Regions from separate parts of the Homo sapiens genome. Here region 2 is linked to region 1. Evidence: promoter capture Hi-C in 16 types of primary human blood cells and fetal thymus (Javierre and others, 2016). All regions are on one chromosome and are shown on one strand. The core of a region is centred on a gene start or on the middle of the fragment in contact, and the rest is flanking DNA. Distances in the headings are between cores, read along the strand shown.

Region 1 (5,810 bases), core at 1,239-3,738:
GGATTAAATGTAAAGTACTTGGCAAGATGCCTGGCACATAAGTGCTGAATAAATGTTAGCACTTTTAGCTTTACCATTATTAAACTATCCTAACAAAATTCCAAATTTCCAGAGAGCAGGCTCTATAGTCTCCCTCCCTCTTCCTTTTCTCTAGTCACTCTGACTTCCCTCTATTTGAAAGAAGTCCCATTGTATCAAAAACGTGGGTGGGTTATATGCCCCACAGAGGCAGATGCCAAGACCATAGCTATCCGCATTTTTCAAAAAGTGCAAATTCCTCCTTTTTTTCTCCCTCTTTTCTAGGCTGGGTTGGAAGCCAGGATGGGAGCCTGGCCAATGGTGAGTCAGAGGGGAGGACTGGAGCACCATTGTCTGGCTGGGACACCAGGTCACTGACACTTGGTAGTCCACTGGGCAGCTTTCCCTGCTATCTGTCCAGATGTGGAGTGAAGAGTGGGTATAACCTATTCATGTGGCCACCTCTTCCCTGCTCTATATCCTAAGTTATACCTCCAACTGCTGCTGTAGCTTCCTCTTCTTCCCAGCCTCCAGGTCCTTGACTAGGCACTATATTTACTCTATACTAAGAGTGCTTTCTCTTCCCTTTGTGCTTCTCCCAAATGGTATGGGAAAGATACCAGCAAGGCACTCTTCCCCCTAAGGAAAGGCAGGCAATGAAGGCATTCTCCAGATGCCTCAGTGATAAGAAATAAACCTTACACTTATGTCAACAAAAGGTAGGATCTTCAGAGGGTAGTGAAAAGGGATTAGATTATGAGGAGGAGTGGCCAGGAGAATGAAGCCGATGTTCTAACATCTCCCCTACCCCAGCACACAGAAAGACAATAGTACCTTTTCCTTTCCCACAGATGCTGCTCTGAGAGGCTCTGGTAGCTATCTCAAGTCTCAGGTCAGGGTGTGGAGGGCTTCTGCCACAGTTCTCATTAACATAGTAGATGTTAATGGAATGGCAGTTTATTTATTTATTTATTTATTTAGAGACGGAGTCTCACTCTGTCGCCCAAGCTGGAGTGCAGTGGCGCGATCTCTGGTCACTGCAACCTCTGCCTCCCAGGTTCAAGTGATTCTCCTGTCTCAGCCTCCCAAGTAGCTGGGATTACACGCGCCCACCACCACGCCTGGCTAATTTTTGTATTTTTAGTAGAGATGGGATTTTGCCATGTTGGCCAGGCTGGTCTCAAACTCCTGACCTCGTGATCTGCCTGCCTCAGCCTCCCAAAGTGCTGGGATTACAAGCGTGAGCCACCGCGCCTGGCCAGTGCAGTTTAATAAAAATGATTTGGGACACAGTCAGGAGCGTCAGCCTTGCCATGACCTATATGACCTGAGGCAACTCACTTTATCTCTCTGGGTCTGAGTTCTTCCTTTGTAAACTAAGGCAGGCAAAATACATGAATTCTAAGGCCTTTCCATTCTAACATTCCATGCTTTTATCAGTGAAATGAAACAGGGAGGACAGAAAGAACAGCGTAACCCTGTGTGTATATAGGAGGCATCCTGTCTCCATGCAGCCCTCTACCACCTTTTGTCTCTGGCCCTCCCCAGAATTTTACCTCATCCTCATTCTCCACTTTAGGGTTGCTGGCTGTTCGTTTCAGGTTGCTGCTGAGACTTATGCTGGCAGTGGCATCTGACTTAGAGCGCTGGTGAGTCCTTTTGGAGGGAGACAGCCCTGTGTCAGGGGCCGGGCTCAAGGAGGGCAGCTCCCTCTTCCTGTGAGCTGGCTTTAGCTCATCTGAGAGGATCAGCTTCCGTAGCTTGGTCCCACGGGAGTGTCGTTGAGTGGAAATGTGCATGTCTGAAGAATAGGCCCCAAGCAACAGGGCACACTGGAGGGAAAAGTTAATGCTCTGGCGGCAACGGTGGACTATGTAGGGCTTAATGGCATCACCCACGTCCTCATCCATGTGGATGTACATGTTAAGCAACTGGGGCAGATAGAAGTCCACGTCCTCGTTGCGAAAGCAGAAGAGCCGGTTGCCAATGTAGGCTTGTACTCCAGGCTCCTTGGAGTTATACAGGTATGAAATGGCCATGGAGATGTCAAACAGTTTTGACTCAAACAGCCTCAGCAGCCAAGACTGTTTAGCTGAGTTGTTCTGCCGCCGTCTTCTTGCTCCTTTGGCTGTGCCTGAGGCCACAGCGGCCCCCATCTCATCTTCCTCCTCCCTGATCTGGGCAGGTGGATCATCTAGGCAACGGATCTCACTGTCCACACCATCCCCATTGACCAACTCCAGTGGGGTGCCTCTGCTAGAGACTGCCACGCCTCCATGCAAAAGCTTGACTTTCTCCAACACCTCCTGGCAGGCCTTCTGGGCCACCTCAGGGTCAATCACTGATAGTTCCCCGACCCCCTCCGTGATGACACTTAGCAGGGACCCCCCATTATTCCCTGGTGGGCCAGAAGTGGGCTCAGAAGTTGGCTTCAAGGGGGCAGGCTCCACTACTGTATCTCCCATGGCCACAGCCAGACTTCGAGCTTCCAAGCTACAGGAAGAGGGAGGGAGAAAAGAACAGAAAGGGAGACACATACACACATTGGTTAGTGGTGCCATCCTCAGATCTTCCCTTTGCTATGACACCTTCCCAGGCACCTCCTCTTTTTGTCTTCCTGGACTCCTTCAAAATCAGATAAGAAGACATATCCTAGGAAGCTTTCCTGACTACCTCCACTTCTGATTACATTACTCGTCATTCCTCCTGTAGTTACTCAGCTTAGCCTCTGTTCTTAGCTTATATATGTGAAATGTTGTTTTGTATATGTTGTATTTATATAGATTTACAAATTCTTTTTGTTGTTGTTGTTGTTGTTGTTGTTGAGACGGAGTCTCGCTCTGTCACCCAGGCTGGAGTGCAGTGGCGCAATCTCAGCTCACTGTAAGTTCCGCCTCCCGGGTTCACACCATTCTCCTGCCTCAGCCTCCCAAGTAGCTGGGACTATAGGCGCCCACCACAACGTCCAGCTAATTTTGTTTTGTATTTTTAGTAGACACACGGTTTCACCATGTTAGCCAGGATGGTCTCCATCTCCCAACCTCATGATCCACCCACCTCGGCCTCCCAAAGTGCTGGGATTACAGGCGTGAGCCACTGCACCTGGCCTACATTTACAAATTCTTTTTTTTTTTTTTTTTTGAGACAAGGTCTTGCTCTGTTACCCAGGCTGAAGTGCAGTTGAACAATCTGGGCTCATTGCAACCTTGACCTCCTGGGCTCAAGCAAGCCTCCCACCTCAGCCTCCCAAGTAGCTGGGACCACAGGTGCACACCACCATGCCTGGCTTATTTTTAAATTTTTAATCTTATTATTTTTGAGACAGGGTCTTGCTCTGTTGCCCAGGCTGGAGTGCAGTGGCGCGATCAGAACTCACTGTAGCCTTGATTTTCTGGGCTCAAGCAATCCTCCTACCTCAGCTTCCCAAGTATCCAGGACTACACGCATGTGCCTCCATGCCTGGTTAATTTTTTAAATTTTTCTGTAGAGACAAGGTCTCACCATGTTGCCCAGCCTGGTCTTGAACTGAGCTCAAGCAATCCTCCCTCCTCAGCCTCGTAAAGTGTTGGAATTACAGGCATGAGCCACCATGCCTGGTGATTTACAGATTCTTCGGGTAGACTGAGAAGCAAGTCAGGTGTTACTCCCTTGTTCCCTAACTCTTCAAATACTTTTCTATCCACTTGCTCTTCCTGTCTCCCTTTAAATGCCTGCTATAACCTTTTTATTTTCCACTTTAGACTATATTTCCTTACTCATATAACATTCTACACACAGGTCCTGTGCATCTCACCTTTATTTTTATTTTTTAGAGACAAGTCTTGCTCTGTTGCCCAGGCTGGAGTGCAGTGGCATGATCATAGCTCACTGTAACCTTGAACTCCTAGGCTCAAGGCATCCTCCTGCCTCAGCCTCCCGAGTAGCTAGGACTTTAGGTGTGTGCCATCATGCTCAGCTAATTAAAAAAAAATTTTTTTGTGCAGATGGCGTCTTGCTGTGTTGCCCAGGCTAGCTTTGAACGCCTGGCCTCAAGCAATTCTCCTGCCTCAGCCTCCCAAAGCACTAGGATTACAGGTGTGAACCACCTTGCCCAGCCATCTTTATTTAATATTAAAGTCTTGGCTAGGCGCAGTGGCTCACGCCTGTAATCCCAGCACTTTGGGAGGCCGAGGTGGGCAGATCACGAGGTCAAGAGATCGAGACCATCCTGGCCAACATGGTGAAACCCCGTCTCTACTAAAAATACAAAAATTAGCCAGGCGTGGTGGCAGGCGCCTGTAATCCCAGCTACTCAGGAGGCTGAGGCCGGAGAATTGCTTGAACCTGGGAGGTGGAGGTTGCAGTGAGCCGAGATTACGCCATTGCACTCCAGCCTGGAGACAGAGTGAGACTCTGTCTCAAAAAAAAAAAAAAAGGCCGGGCGCGGTGGCTCACGCCTGTAATCCCAGCACTTTGGGAGGCTGAGGCAGGCGGATTACCTGAGGTCAGGAGTTCGAGACCAGCCTGACCAACATGGAGAAACCTCGTCTCTACTAAAAATACAAAATTAGCTGGGCGTGGTGGCGCATGCCTGTAATCCCAGCTACTTGGGAGGCTGAGGCAGGAGAATCGCTTGAACCCGGGAGGCAGAGGTTGTGGTGAGCCGAGATCGCACCGCTGCACTCCAGCCTGGGCAACAGAGCGAAACTCTGTCTCAAATAAATAAATAAATAAATAAATAAATAAAATTAAAGTCTTGATATATTTTTCTGGTTACAGGTATTTTTTTACCTTCCCTTTTAAACTCGAAGTTCCCAGAAAATAAAGGCCAGTAAATACCATGCCAGGCTTCACTTAGAAGAAGGCAGCTCTAAAACAACCATCATCAACCCTGCTGAAGCTGTGCCGTTTCTCTGGTTGTCTGACATCATGACATCACACCCTCTTTCTCCAGTGCCGTGGCTGCTAACATATAATGGAAAGAGCTCTGGACTTGAAGGCAAATAGGCTGGGGTTGAAAATCCTCATTCAGCCTTTCAGAAATGTGCAACTTATGCAAGCCATTTATCCTCAACTGCAAATTGGGAAAAAACACTTCCTTCTCATTGTTGCTATGTGGAACAAATACCATCACGTGTATGAAAGAATCTAGCACAGTCTTTGATACATAGTAGTACTCAATATATGCTAGTTGAGGCCGGGCACAGTGACTCATGCCTGTAATCCCAGTGCACTGGGTGGCTGAGGCAGGTGGATCACTTTGAGGTCAGCAGTTCAAGACCAGCGAGACTCTGTCTCAAAAAAAAAAAAAAGAAATGCTAGTTGAATCCTCATCACCTAAAAGGTTACTAACCAGTGTGTGTGTAACATAAAACTTATATTATTTTATAAGGGAAGCAAAGAGTTCCAATTGTTTGAGAATCTTCCAGAAATACTTATGACAGCCTTTTCTGCCCCAATACCACTCCCCCCACTGTCATACACACATTCTAACAACTGGAGGGACAATTGAAAAGGCAAAAAGAAATCAGACTAGGACTCATAGATCTAGGCCTTCCAAAGAACAGGGAGGAACAGGAGTCACAAAACAAAGAACACCTCCTCTGGAGGGACTGTTGGAAGGAAGTTCAATGAAAGAACACTGCTGACCAAAGCCACTGCTCTCCAAGAACAATCCTTCAGAGCCTCACCAAATCTGGAATCAGTGCAGAACTGGGGAAATTTCATCAGATCAACCTGGCTCCAGAATCTGACTATAGCTAACAAAGGACTCAGACTCAGAGGCCTCTTCACAAAAATGCTAATAGAGTGAG
Region 2 (5,810 bases), core at 1,468-3,967, 540 kb after region 1:
GAACCTGCCCTGCTGAGCCAAGCCCAGGAGGCAGCCAAGGTCCTACCAGTGACCTTACCCTGGGGGCCCCTCCAGGTAGGAGCCTGGTTGGAAAAGACAGACCGACTTCTTCTGGGTTGGCTGGAAAAAGATGACATACTCAAAGCCTTGTCCTTCCACTTGGATGCACCTGGTGAAGATGCGACAGTCACCTTTGTCTGGGGAGAGATAGGCAGTGTTGCAGCCGGAGAAGGGAGGGTATGGTCAGGATGCAGCACCATTTGGTTGAGTCTTGCCTCTGGTACAAGATTAAGGAGAGAAAACCAGAGGACACCAGGTCCACCCCCAGGGAGCCTTCCCTCTGGGAGCAGAGGCACAGTTGCTGTCCTCACAGAGCCTTTCTGTCTAGGGCAGAAACATGCAGGAAGTGCCCTGGCTGAGAATGGAGATAGGATCAGGGCCAGGGCAAGACTTTAAGAGACCATAAGCATTGAAAATTGAAAATGTAATTACTCATGTAACTCACATATAATTCAAAAGAATAATAGTAAACAGTAAAATAAGAGCAGAAAAGTCCATCAAAGTTCTGATTTTTTTTTTCCAAGACAGCTACCACTACTACATCCTTTTTTGGAAGTATCAAATTCTTTGAAAAAAAATTATGTTGGTATTCCTGCTTTGTTTGTGCCATAAACCCAAGGGTAGTCTGTCCCCTGTACCACTCCTTCATCACTAGGCAGGAAGACAACATATATGAGTGAGAGAGACAGGGAGATACACATGCGTGCACACACGAGTGCACACACACACACAAGAAGGTGGAAGCTCTATCATTAGGATCCATTAGGATCATTAGGTGTTTCAGGAGTGCTGCTCCAGACCCCGCACAGCAGGGATGATGTGCAGGGCCTCAGTGGAAGGGGTGTGGGGTCCAAGGGCTTTCATGGGGTTGGGGCGGAAGGCTTGGGATGAGGCTTGATAGTTAGGGAGGGGCAGTCAGTGAGAAGTCGGGGCAGGAGCTGGGCTGGCTGTCCTCCAGTGGGGACATGCTTGGCTGGGAGCGAAGGTGGGCCCACCAGGGTGTGCTGCTTCAGATGGGAGGAGGGGAGCTGGAGACCTGAGAGGACACCCGCCGCCTGTTGCCTGGGGCTGCAGCATCAGGGGTGGAGTTGGACAGCAGGAAGAACTCGCTGAGAACTGGAAGGCGGTCTGTGAAGTTGCTTCTCAGTCTTAGAACACAGGGAAGGGCGGCTGGGGTGTGTGTACTCATGGTCCTGTCCTTACCTGAGGAAACTGCCAGTCCAGATGGGAGCTTGAGTCCCCGGATGTGGTCTCTGTTGGACTTGAAGGAGGGCAGCTTGATCCAGCCGCTAGACTTAGTCTTCTCCAGAAATTCTTGGTACAGGCTCAGCATGTCCGAACACCAGCTGGCATTGGGAAGAGCATAATCCTTCAAGTCTGTCTTCTCTGGCAAGAATCTTGAGAACTGGGCAGGAAAAATCAGAATGACTAGACAGCATCCTGGAGGGGGGCTGCTGCCTGGGCTCGGGACCTCTAAACAGCTGTTCCTGGGTGCTGGGGCTTCTCAATCCCTTCTGCCAGAGTATCGATCCAAGGGAAAGGGCCCATATTCCTTGCAGGGGGGCTGCGGACCCCTATGGGTGACGGGGCATAAGGATGCTAAAGAGCAAGGGAAGGGCGGGCAGGGAGTGGGGCCAGAGATGATGGGCATGCTGCTCGATGTGGTGCCTTACCCTTGTTCTGCTTAAAACATGTGAGCAGTTCTTTAAAGTTGACAACTGCTCATATTAGCCTCACTGTACAGATGGGGAAACTGAGGGAATACGGCCAAGGTTGCCAAGCATGTGACTGTGAGAGCTGGTGGTCGCACTAGATGCTGTCTCCTCTGCAGGGCAGGGTCACAGTTGTTGAGGACCATTCTAGCAACCCCCACCTCAGGGGCTACTCCAGCTCTGCCCACTGCTGTGGGCCTGCCTGGGCAGGGTGGCTCCTTTGAAACACATTTGGGCCCCCACAGAGGTGTGGTGCCATGGCTGGGGCACAGACTATGTGCCCATCTGTGTGACGTAAGGAAGTCCTCTGTAGCGTCACCTGCTCATACACCAGTCACAACTGTAGACAGCATGTGAGCTGCTTGCCAATGCCACAGATGGGGTCCTCTGTCTGGGGATACCCCAGCTTTGCTGCAGTAGTCTGAGTCCCACAGGAGGAAAGTCATTTGTTGGTGGCCACACAAGACACAGAGCCAGATGCAGGTCTCCTGGTAGTTTTAGTTTTGAATGGGGGCAACTTGGTATCCCAGAGCACTTTCTCTTTGCCAAATCAAATAGCTCCTCCGAACACTGCCCACCTGCCCTGGCCATGGGCTGGGAAGAGGAGATTTGGGGTGCTCCTTAAGCCCTAGGCTCCTGGGAAAACACTGCCCATCTGGCTGAGCTGGGAACTCACCATGGAGTCTGTGGAGGATCCAAATGCTGAGGCAGGGTTGAGTCTGGGCAGGATACGGGGGGCCTCAAGAAGGCCTCTGTGGTGGCCAAGTCTTGCTGCCACCTGGAAGCATCTCCTTATCATGGCCAAGTGCAAGGATCCAGCCCTGCTTGGATGGAGGGTCTTGGCTGACTCCCAAGGAGTGCTTTCAGCTGCACTTGGGGCCGCTTCTCTCCCTTCTGTTGCAGGCTTTCTTTCAGAGAGCTAGGCGAGGCTGGGCTGGTGTGCTGCAACACCCACAGATGCTCGGCGCCTTTAGCTGGTCTAGGAGCCCCACCCAGTGCTTGGGGAGGGACAGATGCTGCTTGGGCATGAAAAGGCAGCAGGACTGGCTTGAGTTGCAAAAGGAGTAAACAAGTACATAAACAAATAGTATGGGGTATATAGAGCCTTGGAGAGCTGCCTGGGGGTTCTGAGGGAGAATCCAAGAATATTTCCAGAAGGATAAGGGAAGCCTGTCCCTTGATTGGAGGGTGCTGGTGGAGTGTTCTTGGTATGTGCTCTGCAGTGTATACCGGACTCTGAAAACTCTGGTATGATTTTGTGACTCAGAAAACCAACTCACAGGCCGGGTGCGGTGGCTCACGCCTGTAATCCCAGCACTTTGGGAGGCCGAGGCGGCGGATTACGAGGTTAGGAGATCGAGACCATCCTGGCTAACACGGTGAAACCCCGTCTCTACTAAAAAAAATACAAAAAATTAGCCGGGCGTGGTGGCGGGTGCCGGTAGTCCCAGCTACGCAGGGGGCTGAGGCAGGAGAATGGCGTGAACCTGGGAGGTGGAGCTTGCAGTGAGCTGAGATCTAGCCACCGCACTCCAGCCTGGGCGACTGAGCGAGACTCCGTCTCAAAAAAATAAAAATAAAAAAATAAAAAAAAAGAAAACCAACTCACAGCCTTAGACACCTCTTTTTTTTTTTTTTTTTTTTTTTTGGTGAGACGGAGTTTCAATCTTGTCGCCCAGGCTGGTGTGCAATGGCGTGATCTCGGCTCACTGCAACCTCCGCCTCCTGGGTTCAAGTGATTCTCCTGCCTCAGCCTCCTGAGTAGCTGGGATTACAGACACACACCACCACACCCAGCTAAATTTTGTATATTTTTTTTAGTAGAGATGGGGTTTTGCCATGTTAGCCAGGCTGGTCTTGAACTCCTGACCTCAGGTGACCTCCCAAAGTGCTGGGATTACAGGCGTGAGCCACCGCACCCGGCCAACACCTCTTCTTATATCCCGGACAAGGGTTAGCACAGGAGAGTTTCACCTGCTGGTCTCTGGCTGGGGATAGGAGTTGGAGGTGGGGGAGGGCTTGACAGGGAGGGCAGAAAATAATTTGGGAGGAAACAGCTTGGCAGGGATACTCTCATGTTTTGGGAACCCCGTGCCCAGGGAGTGGCTCATGTCAGCAGGCAGTGCTGGGAGTGAGGTGGGCGCGGCAGTGAGGCTTTGTTGAGTGGGAAGGGACACTCAGCCAACATCTGCAAGGCAGTGGGATTTGGTGGTGGTGTGTCTTCTATTGAATTTAAACTGCCAATTTTCAATTAAAAGTCTCAGTTTTAAATTGACTAAAATAAAAGCATGTTCTAAAGATCAGTCCTCGCGCAGTGGCTCAAGGCTGTAATCTCAGCATTTTGGGAGGCCGAGTGAGACCTTGTCTTAAAAAAAAAAAAATCAGAACTGTGCAAAGGTGGAATCATAACAGTGATGATGACGATAATAATAGTTGTGATGATTATGACATTTTGGCAGGTTCCAAAAGATGAAACTGATTTAATGCGGAAATTTAAAAGATTTGGTTCACCCTCTGTATTTGGTTGCCCTAGAAGAAGACTAGAATATAAATATTTCCCCTCACCTCCTGCAAAGGTTTGAATTAAACTTCCTCAAGGACTGGGGGAACCATTTTTTTTTGTTGTTGTTATTTTGTCAGAGTCTCACTCTTATTGCCCAGGAGTGCAGTGGCACCATCTCGGCTCACTGCAACCTCTGCCTCCCAGGCTCAAGCAATTCTCCTGCCTCAGCCTCCCAAGTAGCTGGGATTACAGGCGCTTGCTACTACGCCCGGCTAGTTTTTATATTTTTAGTAGAGACGGGGTTTCATCATGTTGGCCAGGCTGGTCTCAAACTCCTGGCCTTGGCTGATCTGCCTGCCTCAGCGTCCCAAAGTGCTGGGATTACAGGCATGAGGCACCACGCCCAGCTGGAAGTTTTTTTGGTTGATTCAGCCTCTGGGTCTAAGCAAAGATATTTGAGTTGGTTGCCATCCCCAGATAAGTGAGAATATCTGGCAGCACTCATTTTCAGCCCTGGGCCGCAGCCGTTGCTGTGAGGCAGAAATTAAAAAAAGATAGTAAGTACTACATTCATTCACTCCAAGAAAAGTAACAGACAAGGCTATAAGAAGGTCATAGTGACCTAGTCTGAGAAGTAAAAGCCAAGGCCCAGAATGTGGCAAGGCAAAGGTTAAAAAGAAAGGAAGAGCAAGTTTTTCTCTGCCTAGCAAGCTCACTTCAAAGACAATTATAAGATAATGCTCTTCGAGAAGTCGAAACCAAAGGAATAGGCTCCAGACATCCCCCGTCTGGAGCAAGGGTGAAGGAAAAAAAAAAAAGGACAAATGTCTGTCTGTATTTAGCCAGTTCTTGTTTTTTCTTTCCACGCAGCTACAAGGCCACCAGCTATGCAAAGCCACAAGTTATGCCAAGTCATCAGTTATGCTATAGATTATGTGACCTGTCATTATATGATTAACTGCCTGTTTTGCTTCTGTAAGCCTGCTTATAAAAATCCTGCTCAGTCTTTGTTCAATGCTCAGCTTTTTGGATGTGAATCCACTGAGCCAATGCCTACCTTAAAATAAACATCGTCCTGTTTTTCCATATCTGTCTCTCTGGTCCTGAGTTTACCACAATAGCTGTAGCTGGTACCCTGTGCCTGTGGCTTGCCCAGGCGTCCCCTGGCACTTGGCATCCCTTCATTCCCTGGGTCCATCCTTGATCTGGAAGGATGGACTTGAGAAGACAGGATAGAAAAGAAAAATCCTAGGAAGGATAGGTGAACTGGAGAGAAGTCAGAGGAAAGGTGAGTGGGGAGCAAGAGGGGATCCTCAGGCGGCCCTGACAGCTGGAAGCTGGTTCCAGCAAGGTGGCCCCAGGAGGAAAGAGCTGTCCTCCTAAGAAGAGTCAGTAGGGCCAGGCGCGGTGGCTCACGCCTATAATCCCAGCACTTTGGGAGGCCAAGGCGGGTGGATCACCTGAGGTTGGGAGATCAAGACTAGCCTGACCAACATGGAGAAACCTCATCTCTACTAAAAATACAGAATTAGCCG

Evidence for each region. The method cuts DNA at HindIII sites, captures the fragments that hold promoters and counts their contacts. A CHiCAGO score of 5 or more calls a contact.
Region 2: the fragment with the promoter of THEM5 here is called in contact with a fragment that was not itself captured in region 1 in 1 of 17 cell types (erythroblasts); the score reaches 5.8 in erythroblasts.

The regions. Positions count from the first base shown.
Region 1 is chr1:151,313,999-151,319,808 of GRCh38, forward strand. PI4KB (phosphatidylinositol 4-kinase beta) reads right to left here. Exons shown (of 12, transcript NM_001369623.2): 2 at 1,575-2,511. The coding sequence starts at 2,483. Among named protein-coding and RNA genes, the nearest start is that of PI4KB, 11 kb to the right of the region's middle. The HindIII fragment of the contact is 375 bases long and covers 2,302-2,676 here.
Region 2 is chr1:151,850,995-151,856,804 of GRCh38, forward strand. It overlaps THEM5 (thioesterase superfamily member 5), which reads right to left and starts at 2,718. Exons shown (of 6, transcript NM_182578.4): 1 at 2,449-2,718; 2 at 1,264-1,465; 3 at 59-197. The coding sequence starts at 2,571. C2CD4D-AS1 (C2CD4D and THEM5 antisense RNA 1) reads left to right here. Exons shown (of 4, transcript NR_152846.1): 4 at 1-541. The HindIII fragment of the contact is 9,012 bases long and covers 1-5,810 here.